4 separate regions of the Homo sapiens genome follow, and all the other regions are linked to region 2. Evidence: promoter capture Hi-C in 16 types of primary human blood cells and fetal thymus (Javierre and others, 2016). All regions are on one chromosome and are shown on one strand. The core of a region is centred on a gene start or on the middle of the fragment in contact, and the rest is flanking DNA. Distances in the headings are between cores, read along the strand shown. Region 1 has its middle 200 kb from the start of HIVEP2. Region 2 holds the start of AIG1 (androgen induced 1). Region 3 overlaps HIVEP2 (HIVEP zinc finger 2). Region 4 overlaps HIVEP2 (HIVEP zinc finger 2).

Region 1 (2,700 bases), core at 35-2,534, 320 kb before region 2:
ATATGGTTTGGCTGTGTCTCCCCCAAATCTCATCTTGAATTGTAGTGCCCATACTTCCCATGTGTCATGGGAGAGACCCAGTGATTGAATTGAATCATGGGGGCAGGTCATTTTTGTGCTATTCTTGTGATAGTGAATACTTTTGATGAGATCTGATGGTTCCCCTACACACACTCTCTTGCCTGCCGCCATATAAAACGTGACTTTGCTCCTCATTCGCCATCCACCATGATTGTGAGGCTCCCCCCAGCCATGCAGAACTGTAAGTCAATTAAACCTCTTTTCTTTATAAATTACTCAGTCTCAGGTATGTCTTTATTAGCAACATGAGAACAGACTAATACACCTGTAAATCTGGAAGCATGCAGCATTCGGAAGGAAGGAGGTAGAATGAAGAGAAGTGTAAGGCCTGGCTCTGGAGTCATCCCATACTTTCCAAGATCTCCATTCTTTAAATATTGATGACACCTTATTTAGAGTAACTAAGGAAACAGCAAAGGATTTGTTCTTGGAATTTTACAGAAACTGAAAGGGGGAGCTAGTACGGATTTTCTGGAGCACGTCCAAGTTCAAAATGTTGGATGGCATATAGTGTACCTAAAAAATGGGCAGGTCTTTCTCTCATAAATTTGGAATGAAAGAAAGTGGCATTCCAAAATACCATTCCTGCTCATTCTTGCCATCTTCCCCGACCCAGCAGCATTTGTTTTTATTGGTGTTTATAGTTACTGGTTGGCCTCAAAATAGATATTTTAATTCGGAGCTCTCACTCATGGTTAAAGAATGTGAAAAGAAGGTTTCTATGGTAATGTTTTCATTTTTAGATTAAGGTGCAGATGATTAATCTCTCCTATCCATCTCATGAAATAGAAGATGATTGATTAATGTGGAAACAGATGGTTAGGAGAGAAAACAGTAAGTATTCATTCTGGAATTTTCCTTACATATTTTGGCTTTTGTCTTTATTATTTTGTTCAGGAATTTAGGACAGAGAGGTTATTTTTATTTACCACATTCATTTATCCTGGACCCAAAGTTATAAAGAGAAACAAATGATATGTATCTCTCTAATTTATCCTATATGCGAATATACCATTATTAGCTGTTGTGGTTTGGAGATACCATCCTAAATTCTAGAAAAGTGATGCATAGGAAAAGTAGTCTTACATAATGCAATCAGAACTAATTGCAGATTAATTTTAAAATGACAATGGATCATACAAGTTGATACATAATACATTAAATATTTTAACTTAAAAAATTCTGAAATGTACATGCATCTTTGTCATCCTTTGGTGGAGAGTGGTGTACCATCTTCCGTTTCAGCTTTGGGCTGTGATTGGAGATCCAGTCAGGTAACATAAATACAATCTAACTATAATACATTGCCAAAATGATAATTTCACCTTGTTTAAAGTGGAATGAGTATTGGAAGACATTCAGTAACAAATTGGAGGCAGAGTCATTTTTAATTTTTAGTTTTTCTAATTGCCCACACATAATTCAATTGCCACTTTCTTAATGACCTTTCCTTATTCTTTCCAAAGCATTTAACTTAACAGCCATAGATAAAAGCACTCTTTTTTGCACTCATATTTTATAGATTCATGTGGAATTTAAATCAAGTAATTATAATAATCCACAAAACTTGCATACATTGGTATGGGATTGAATTCAACTGCACACAATTCAACTGGCAACAGGAAAAGTGCACAGTTGTATAGAGAGCAGTCTGGAGTGTTCAGCTTGGTTTATGAAGGGAATGAAGAAATGCAGTTACTCCTATGAATCTATTTGGTATAGGTCAATTTGAAAATCCTTAAATGTGTATGTCAAGTAATTTTTGCATGTTTGTGCATTTTTCAGATCCTCTATGTCACTACAATTAAATAAACGTGGTCATGGTGAGACTACATGGGCTACGGTAGCGTAGTAGAAATAGGAGTGATCCTGGTGTCTGAGTGACTTTGATTTGAATGCAATCATCTTAGTATTAGCAGCAACACAGTAGTAACAAAAGCAGTTTTGACATCATTATTTTTAAATTGACTTAAATAGTAATAGTCTTAACACATTATAGATATATTTATGTGTCAGCAACTATATTCAAAATGTGCTTATAGAAACTGTCAAATGCTTTGAAATAGTTTCTTAGACATAATACTCAAAATGTTTGATTCTATGATATTGAGGACAAGTTTTCTAGGATTAATAAATAATTCTGCCTAATGAATTTCGATTCATCTTTATTAACTTCTAGCTTCAAATAGATCAGCAGTTCTCAACCAGGGCAGTATCAATCACACACAAACACACCCCAGGGCATTTTGGAAATTCATGGAGGCTTTTGATTGGTGCTATGATGACAGGGTGCTGCCGGCATTTAGTGATTAAGATTCTCCAACACTGGAGTTCCACCAATGAGCAGAACCATTTTGTAAACTTGAATGTTACTCTAAATGGGACACGAAAGTGAAATACTCATTTGGATTTATGTGAGCCTAGAATCAAGCTCTGTTTCATTATAAAGCAAATCTGAAGTGGGGGTATAGATTTTCAAGTCATCTCTGCTACCAGAAGACAAGTGTGCTCCCAAAAATCATTGTACTATGCAAAATTGTGCAATAACAAGCCATAGGGCTTATGGGGAAAACAGGGTTAGGGACACAATACTCCAAAACTTCATCAGTGATATGTTAA
Region 2 (2,700 bases), core at 154-2,653:
CACAATTAAAAAAATAAAGCCAACTTTTACATTAAGATTTAACCAAAAATCATCAATAATACATCGTTTTAATGCTAGTAGAATCTTCTTCTGACATCAGTTCTATTAGCATAATTATAATGCCAATTAAAAAAATCTAGTGGGTCTCTTCATTTTAGTTTAGAGCTTGATTGGAAACATTCAGGAAAACATCCATGGCTTGCTTGCTACTTTCTCTTTACCTCTAGCACTATGCTTCTCCCCACCAGCCCTCCCTCCACATCCTCTGACTCAGAGACTATTTGAAGAGGACACCTGTTTTAAATGGATCCACAGGAAATACCTATGTTGCCTTTTCATAATCCGAACCTGCAACTGGTTGGCTGAAATGAAAATGTTGCCCACAGACTGATGCAACTTCAGTGTGACAACATTTACTGGAAGGCAGGAGGGACTCCAGTTTATATTTATTTTCCTTCCATTAAGCCCTGGTAGTGTAGTGTAAGAAAAAAGTAAGGGCAAAACCAGTTTAACAACCAGATGATTAGTATTAAATTACACGCAGGGGTTTTACATCCAAAATTGGAATTTTTTAAAGCTGAATGCAATCTTGTGGCAGAAAGTTATTTGAAAATCCTTTCTTTATAGCTTTTTATCTATAAACCTCTTGTCCAAAGTTCATATTCTAGCTGATGTTATATACTGATATGACATTATTCAATCTGTCATGGAAAAGTGCTGCGTAGCCTACCCATTGAAAGCAGAATTGAGAGAGTTTCCTAGTGATTGACAGTCGTTTGTCAACACTGAAAACCTTATTGCCCCAAAATACTGAAAGTCACTCGCGGCTGCCTGTGCTCGGGTTTACACCCCACGTTCACACCCCCACCGGATCCCTCCGCACGGGGCACCAGCTCTCGGCCAACTGCAACTACCCCAGGAAGCGTCACCGCGATTCCGGGGCGGGAACATTTGTGGACACTGGGGTCCACTCCTTCAGTCTAGGTTCCCCGCCCCCTCGCCCGGCCCGGCGCCCACTAGCCACAGGGCCCGCTTCCCCCTGGAGATCAGCGCGCACTTCCCGAGCCCTCGTAGCACTCAGAGGTCGCATCCACACCTGGGATGCCTAGGGGGCGCCTCCTGGCCGGGTGTCCCGGGACCCTGCGAACGCAGGAGCAGAATGACGAAGGTGACGAAAGAGATGACGACACGCCGCCTGCCAGGCCGCGGCCGGCAGTGGAGAGCGTCCGCAAACCGCGCCCGGCCAGTACAGGTCACCCGGGCGCTCGCGGCCGCGCCAGTCCCCGGGGGCGCGCGCCCCGCCCCCGCCCCCGCCCCCGCCCCGCCCCGCCCCGCGCCCGCGCCCGCGCCCGGGTTCCCACGGCGCCCGCCCCCGCGCGCCCGGCGCCTCCCTCACGCCCGCCCTCCTTGCCGCCCAGCCGGTCCAGGCCTCTGGCGAACATGGCGCTTGTCCCCTGCCAGGTGCTGCGGATGGCAATCCTGCTGTCTTACTGCTCTATCCTGTGTAACTACAAGGCCATCGAAATGCCCTCACACCAGACCTACGGAGGGAGCTGGAAATTCCTGACGTTCATTGATCTGGTAAGGCCGTCCCCTCCCCCTGCTCGCCCCGCACCCCGTGCCTGTGTGTGCGTGTGTGTGTGTGTGTGTGTGTGTGTGTGTGGATGCGCGAGCACCTGCGCACGTGCGCGCCTCCAGCATCCACCCGTGTCCTCGCCTCTTCCCCAGTGATTGCGTGTGAAGGCCTGGCTGCCCCCGCAGCGGCACCTTCTGAACCACTCACCGTTACCTGGTAGCTGGGTACCCTTACCTGGCAACTGGGGGACAAATGGAGGTGGGGCGCAGCCAGGTGGTGGGCTCTTTGGAGGGGGACACCGAACTGCTTCTAAGAGGTGACACGGGAAGAATCTTCAACAAAAGCATCGGACCTGATCCTGAATGGCCTGAGACCCATTCGCCCTCAAGGTGCTTTTCAGAGCACCCACCGTGGGATGAACTTGTTGCAACTGAAGGAAACTGGGTATTGTCTAGTGATTTGGAACTTCACCTGAAAGAACCAAATCCTTCTCATAAGGGAGAGAAAGCACCTAATAAAGTTGTCTTCTTTGCATCTGTTTTTTTCCCCCATTGTCAATAATTTACTTTCAACCTTTACCCCGTACATATTAGGAGACAGAGATGTTCAAAGTGCATTTCCAAGGTGACTGTACACACTTCTCTGTCTTCCCATGTACAAATTTACAGTAGTTTGCATAAGCAGCTCCTCTGTTGGCACAATATGATAATCTTGACAGGTGCAGGTTATTATTAGTATATCATTTTGAAAGTTTTTCTATTTCTGGCACTAAAAGGCCCTCTTCAACCTCCCTGGAGAACAGAACATGGGCATAAGGCCCAATAATGAACTCATGGATGGACCTAGGAATTTCAGGGTAAAGGTGACTAAGACACACGCTAAAAGATTATTAGGAAGAGGCTTAAAACAAAAGCAATGAAGTTCTAAAGCACTCAGAGAAATTGTAGAACCAATTCCTGGGACTCCCTGAACTGTTTATCCAAGACTATACAGTTGGTTGGCTACACCAGCAAGATTATAATCTCTTGTTGACCCTCCATTCTGATGAAGAGAACATGATACCTGTTTTAAAAATTTCCAAAGGCTTAGGATGCCTCAAAGAAATGCAGAGAGGCTTTTGGTTT
Region 3 (2,700 bases), core at 9-2,508, 300 kb before region 2:
GAGTAACTCGAATACTTGGCAAAGTAACCAAATAGCTGATCAACGAAGAATGTCCCAGGGAACTATCTGAAGGAACCCCGTGGGGTACGGCGCCAACATTCACAGGCAAGGAGGAGAATCTAGGAGGCTGAGGACTGGTGCTTCTTGATCTTGTTTTTGGTGTTAAATCTCCCTGGTCGTCAAAGTCATCTTCATCTTCATCATCATCATCATTATCATCTCCATCCTCACCATCTGATTCCTCAGCATCGGAGAACTGATGATCAGTTGAAATGCTGGACATGCTATGCTTCTCTGCTGCTTTGTGCAAATCTTCCAAATTTTCTGAAACAATTAAACAAAGATAATGGAGATCAAGATCCAAATATCAAGGTTAGGATCTTATTTAAGCCTCATTTCTTTCTAAACGCTTTTCCCAATCCCTAGTGCCCACAGATAGTTATGTCTGAGAACTCCTATAAAATGAGGCACTTACCTGTGTGACCCTGCGTTCATTCTATCTTCTTGTATATCTATTTGTTTTCATCCCCAACTTACAAGAAAGATTCCATAGTAGGACTTTATATCTCAGACATCATCCCACTCACAGAAAACCCTCAACAAATGAGCATGGATAATGTTAATTATGATGCTAGAGGAGAAAGAAAGGCAACAACCTGTCTCTGCAAGCTCAGGTACAAACGTATGTCTAAGTGATGTAACTCAGGAGGTCTGGCCAACCTTAATGATGTTTGTTTGCTAGTTTATTTGTTTTCCTACTGGGTTTCTTCTTAACTTGAATAATAATACATTAAAATGCTTTTCAAATTCCCCAAAAAGCCTCATAAAATCTAATTTGCTATCACAAAGCAAGTGCAATTCTATTCCCTTCATAGAAGGCTCTAAATATAAGTATTTTCAAAGTAAGGCCTTTTTTGCCCTCGGAGTCAAAACTGAAATGCATTTCTTCTCAGTAGATTTCAAGCAATTCAATGTGTCAGTTTTATTTTCTATATTTAGTATTTAATAAAATGAAAAGTGATCACTTTTTAAAAATATCTAAACTTATTTTACTACCTCAGCCACAGAGCTCCACTGTGCATAATGAAGAGGTCTGTCAACTCATTTATGACATACACACCTGCTTCCTCAGTTTCTGTATCATCCACCGATGTCATTGAGACTCCCAATTCCAGGCATTTTTTCATGTGTGCTTTAGATTTCATATGCTTCGTTAGGTTTCCTTGAAAATGTAGCAAAAAAAAGAGAGAAATTAATTGGTTATCAAATTAATAACTGCTGATAGCTGCTCCAAATTCAATGTGAAATGAACTAATTTTATTAAATTCATCATGTAACACAGATTTGTTTCTACCCACTACCCCTTGTTTCAACCTTAAGAAGAATAATCTGGTCTTTGAAGATATCAATCCCTGAGAGCTTTGGCCCAATCTCAGATATTCTTTATTCTAGAAGATATGTGGAAGTCCAGGCTCACATCTTTTCAAGAGTAGGCTCAAAGCAAGACTAGAAATCCCAGGCTTTTCTGCCTGAGAAGGGACCTCATATCTACCCAAATACACCAGCCTCCTGGGACTCCACAGAAACAGGAAACGCAATCTGGCCACACACCTCAGAGATACTTCAGAATGAAATATTCTCAACACACCCACTGGGCCCCTGACCTTCTGTGACTGATCAGGTACAGAGTAACCTCCAAGGATCTTCACCATTCAGAAGAAAAATACATACAAACTAATGTGAGGGCCAACCTTGTCAGTGCTCTGAAAGATCCATACAAATAATTAGCTAACTACTCATAGGGAGCATTATTCCCAGTATTTAGCATCTATCTGTCTGGCATATGTTAGCAAAAGTTATGACAGCAATTCCTAAAATTCTGGAGCAGCAACATTCCCTCTTTACTTATCTTCAGGCTCCTATCACACTAACAAAAAAGAAAGGTTTCATGCTGAATATGTTATAATGATAATGGCATATACAATTATATGTGTATATACATGTGTGGATATAAATTATATATATAATTTGTATAACTGCTTTATGAAATGTGAGAAATTTTGAAAACATTGTTCCAATCCTCGTTGACCCAGGATCTACAGAAGAATGCACACACACACACACACACACACACACACACACACACACACATACATATAAATTATATGCCATATAACTTATCAAAAGAGATTCAGGAACTAATTCAGTTGTAAGGCGCCTTTACATCACTTCAGTGAAAATAGCCATAATGTTATCTGTGCCCTTGACAACGCTTTAGCAATGTACCAACAAATACTTTAAGAGAAGGCTCTGTGAAATCTCCGTGGAAACTCAGCCTGCTAGCACAGTTTATTCCTCTGGTAGGGGTGTTCAGCTTGCTGTTCATGTAATATATGAGCCACAGTTAAAACTGGGACACTGTTGTTTATTATTTTACTCATATTGCTTTATTATTTACTTATTGCTTATATACTTATAAATTTTACATGCTGTTTTGAATAATTCCAAACAGAAATATTTCCAGGCCCCCACTCCTCCTATTTATCAAAACTTATATCTACCATTTTTTAAAGAGCCCAAAAATGTTATAGACATATCAAGAATGCTTAAATCTAGAAAATTAATGAAATGTATCTACAAATTAATAAAAATCATCACTTGTGCCAGAGTGCAAGTACGCTATGGATGTGTATAGGTATA
Region 4 (2,700 bases), core at 103-2,602, 260 kb before region 2:
AGCATGAAATGCTGAAAAGGCAAACTGTTCTTAATGTATTTCATAAACAAAACATTACTACATAGAATATAAATGCCAAAATTCCTGCTTTGGAGTTTGTTCTTGTATTATGTCATAATGACTAGCCATTAAATGTAACTCATTTTTTTGGCTTGTCAGTGGGAAACAACATTCTCGTCCTAAGTGCAGCCCGGGAGGAGACAGCGCTATCTATGGTAACACCTAGGCATCCTTAAAAGACAGATAGGAATATGAATCTTGTCCATTTCAGGGACAGCCATTTCTTGCTGAGGGGCTAAACCACTAAGAAAAGAGGAGACAGAGCATCAGGCATTATCTCTTCTTGGAAGAAATGAATATTCATATTACTATTCATTGTCACTAGTCACTATTGAAGTGACTAAAAATTAGTAAATTTCTGGTCATCAGTGGACAGCTGCAACATCAACAAATTATTTGAAAAATCAACACCTGCTGAAAGCATGTTTTCCCCAAAACCTTATTGAAGTCCCAAACATCAGAGTTGTCAACTAACTTCTATAATGCTATCTGAAACTGCAATTAAAGTTCAAGGTGGTAGAATAGCAAACTAGTGACATCAAACAGCAGGGGAGCCTCTGGGCTAAGATGCAGTTAGTCCACAAACATAGTCCCTTTGCAGTCTAGCAGGGAATGATACATCAGCACCAGGTCCATGACAGGAACCCAGCATCGCTGATTAGTTTGAAATTTTCCTTGCTCATTTGTGCATGAAAAGCCATATATCACTTAATGCCAATGACCAAGAGTCTTCTCAAACCAGGGTCAAATTGCTAAAGGCTATTTTTTTCCTAGCATATTGAAAAACCTCATTTTTTCCCAAGAACTTTCCCAGAAATTAGACTAAGCAGCAAATATTTTCCCTTTACTTCAGATTTATTGTCTGGGCTACCACACACCCAGGTGGCAGCAAAAAACACTGAAAATGTCTGCATTTGGCTGGTGTGGAATAAATGGTCTTAATAGCTCACAAATATCTGAGGAATTAAACCTAGGAAGACAGCATCACCACATTGAGCTGCTGAAGTGCATGTCTACTACTTCAATTTTTAGATGACAATATTCAATTAACAACCATGGTATCATATTAGTCATTATTAACACTTACTAAGCACCTCTGCCTCTAGTATGCAAAGTGCAGAATTCAAGTTTAATATGGTGGGACTCTAACTGTCAGATGGCATCTTCACTGGATTTATGCTTCTCTATGAAACAATGGGTTCCTTTCCAAGCTAATCATCTTAAGTTTCTAAGTATTTGGCCTTCATTTTTATATATGCCTAATATGCTCAGAAACAAGAAATGCATGACTAATCACAAGTAAATTTATAAAAGAATACATTTTCTGCTTAGAGTGATAAGTATCTTTTTGATGAGAATGATTTAGTTTTATTGAGAGAGATTAAAATTTAAAACCAGCAACTAAAATCTTAGAAATGCTTCCCTTTAATATTCTCAGGGATGATAAACAGAAAATAAAAAAAGGAGAATTTGAGAGGCTTAGGAGGAGGAATCCCTCAAAATGCATAGAAGATATTTAGATCTATGAAAATAATTCAAAGAACTGGCTCTATTATATAAAACTGGAAAGATCCTTCTGTTCTGATGTTGAGTGTCTCTCCCTAGGCTAATCCAAACGGCTCAGAAAGGTCATGTGCTATAACAGACAATAGCTTTAGAAGATCATAATTTTATCTTTTGTTGCTTTTTGATGTTAATGAGTAAATAATGGCATTTCTTGACAAAGACTAGTTACATAGTGATAACTGGCAGAAACCTCTACATTTTGACCAGAGTGAATACTGTAGGAGTCACCTCACTATATAGTGTGGGGAACATAATGGACTGAGCCTGCACAAGGAAAAGAGGCCAGGGTAGCCCATGTGATGGCTCGGCTTGCCCTGTCTATTCAGTTCTGATGTTCTCTGCAGGTCAGAAGAGAGGACCTTTCCCAGGGACTCACCAGGTATGAGGTCAAGCAGTGGCCAGTGTCAAAAAAAAAAAAAAAAAAAACGAGGGAATACACACAATACCTTCAGTTAAGAGGTACTATGATAGCATGAAAAGAACACTAGATTAAGGCAAATGTCAGCAGACTATAAAATACATTCTCACCAGAAGAATTGCTTGAACCCAGGAGGCGGAGGTTGCAGTGAGCTGAGATGAGATTGTGCCACTGCAGTCCAGCCTGGGAGACAGAGTGAGACTCTGTCTCAAAAAAAAAAAAAAAAAAAAATTCTCACTTGAGAAAGTTAGATAACATTCTCACTTGCAAAAGCTAAATAAGGCCAACGATCACTGAGATAGTGATTGCCAGTAATTACAAGAATCTAAGCGAATTCTCTTTTACTCCAGATCTAGTATTTCCACATCACCTCTCAGTTAGCAGACCAATTCAGCTCTCCTGATTATGTACCCTTGTATAAGTCACTTCCACTTAGTGGGACTTGGTTTCCCATCTATAAAATGGACACAATAATTCCTGCCCTGCTATCTTCCTGGGTTACTGTAAGAACTAAGTGAATCTCCATATGTGAAAACAATATGAAAATGAAAATCACTAGATCATTGTAAGATATGAATTTTAAATCCATGGCCCTTCTCAATCACAGTTTTATAGATGTCCCATCACAGGCCTTCTGTGTCATGACTTAAGTTCCA

The links. The method cuts DNA at HindIII sites, captures the fragments that hold promoters and counts their contacts. A CHiCAGO score of 5 or more calls a contact.
Region 1: a fragment that was not itself captured here is called in contact with the fragment with the promoter of AIG1 in region 2 in 1 of 17 cell types (naive B cells); the score reaches 5.9 in naive B cells.
Region 3: a fragment that was not itself captured here is called in contact with the fragment with the promoter of AIG1 in region 2 in 1 of 17 cell types (total B cells); the score reaches 5.8 in total B cells.
Region 4: a fragment that was not itself captured here is called in contact with the fragment with the promoter of AIG1 in region 2 in 1 of 17 cell types (neutrophils); the score reaches 5.3 in neutrophils.

Annotation. Positions count from the first base shown.
Region 1 is chr6:142,739,919-142,742,618 of GRCh38, forward strand. No RefSeq gene overlaps it. Among named protein-coding and RNA genes, the nearest start is that of HIVEP2, 200 kb to the right of the region's middle. The HindIII fragment of the contact is 7,865 bases long and covers 1-2,700 here.
Region 2 is chr6:143,059,486-143,062,185 of GRCh38, forward strand. AIG1 (androgen induced 1) reads left to right here and starts at 1,404. Exons shown (of 6, transcript NM_016108.4): 1 at 1,404-1,581. The coding sequence starts at 1,441. RefSeq lists enhancers at 400-1,338, 1,164-1,293, 1,894-1,943 and silencers at 1,294-1,383, 1,634-1,703. The HindIII fragment of the contact is 5,617 bases long and covers 1-2,700 here.
Region 3 is chr6:142,760,344-142,763,043 of GRCh38, forward strand. HIVEP2 (HIVEP zinc finger 2) reads right to left here. Exons shown (of 10, transcript NM_006734.4): 8 at 1,121-1,222; 9 at 1-324. Among named protein-coding and RNA genes, the nearest start is that of HIVEP2, 180 kb to the right of the region's middle. RefSeq lists an enhancer at 1,502-1,551. The HindIII fragment of the contact is 9,901 bases long and covers 1-2,700 here.
Region 4 is chr6:142,799,160-142,801,859 of GRCh38, forward strand. The region is part of intron 2 of HIVEP2 (HIVEP zinc finger 2); the gene reads right to left. Among named protein-coding and RNA genes, the nearest start is that of HIVEP2, 140 kb to the right of the region's middle. The HindIII fragment of the contact is 4,351 bases long and covers 1-2,700 here.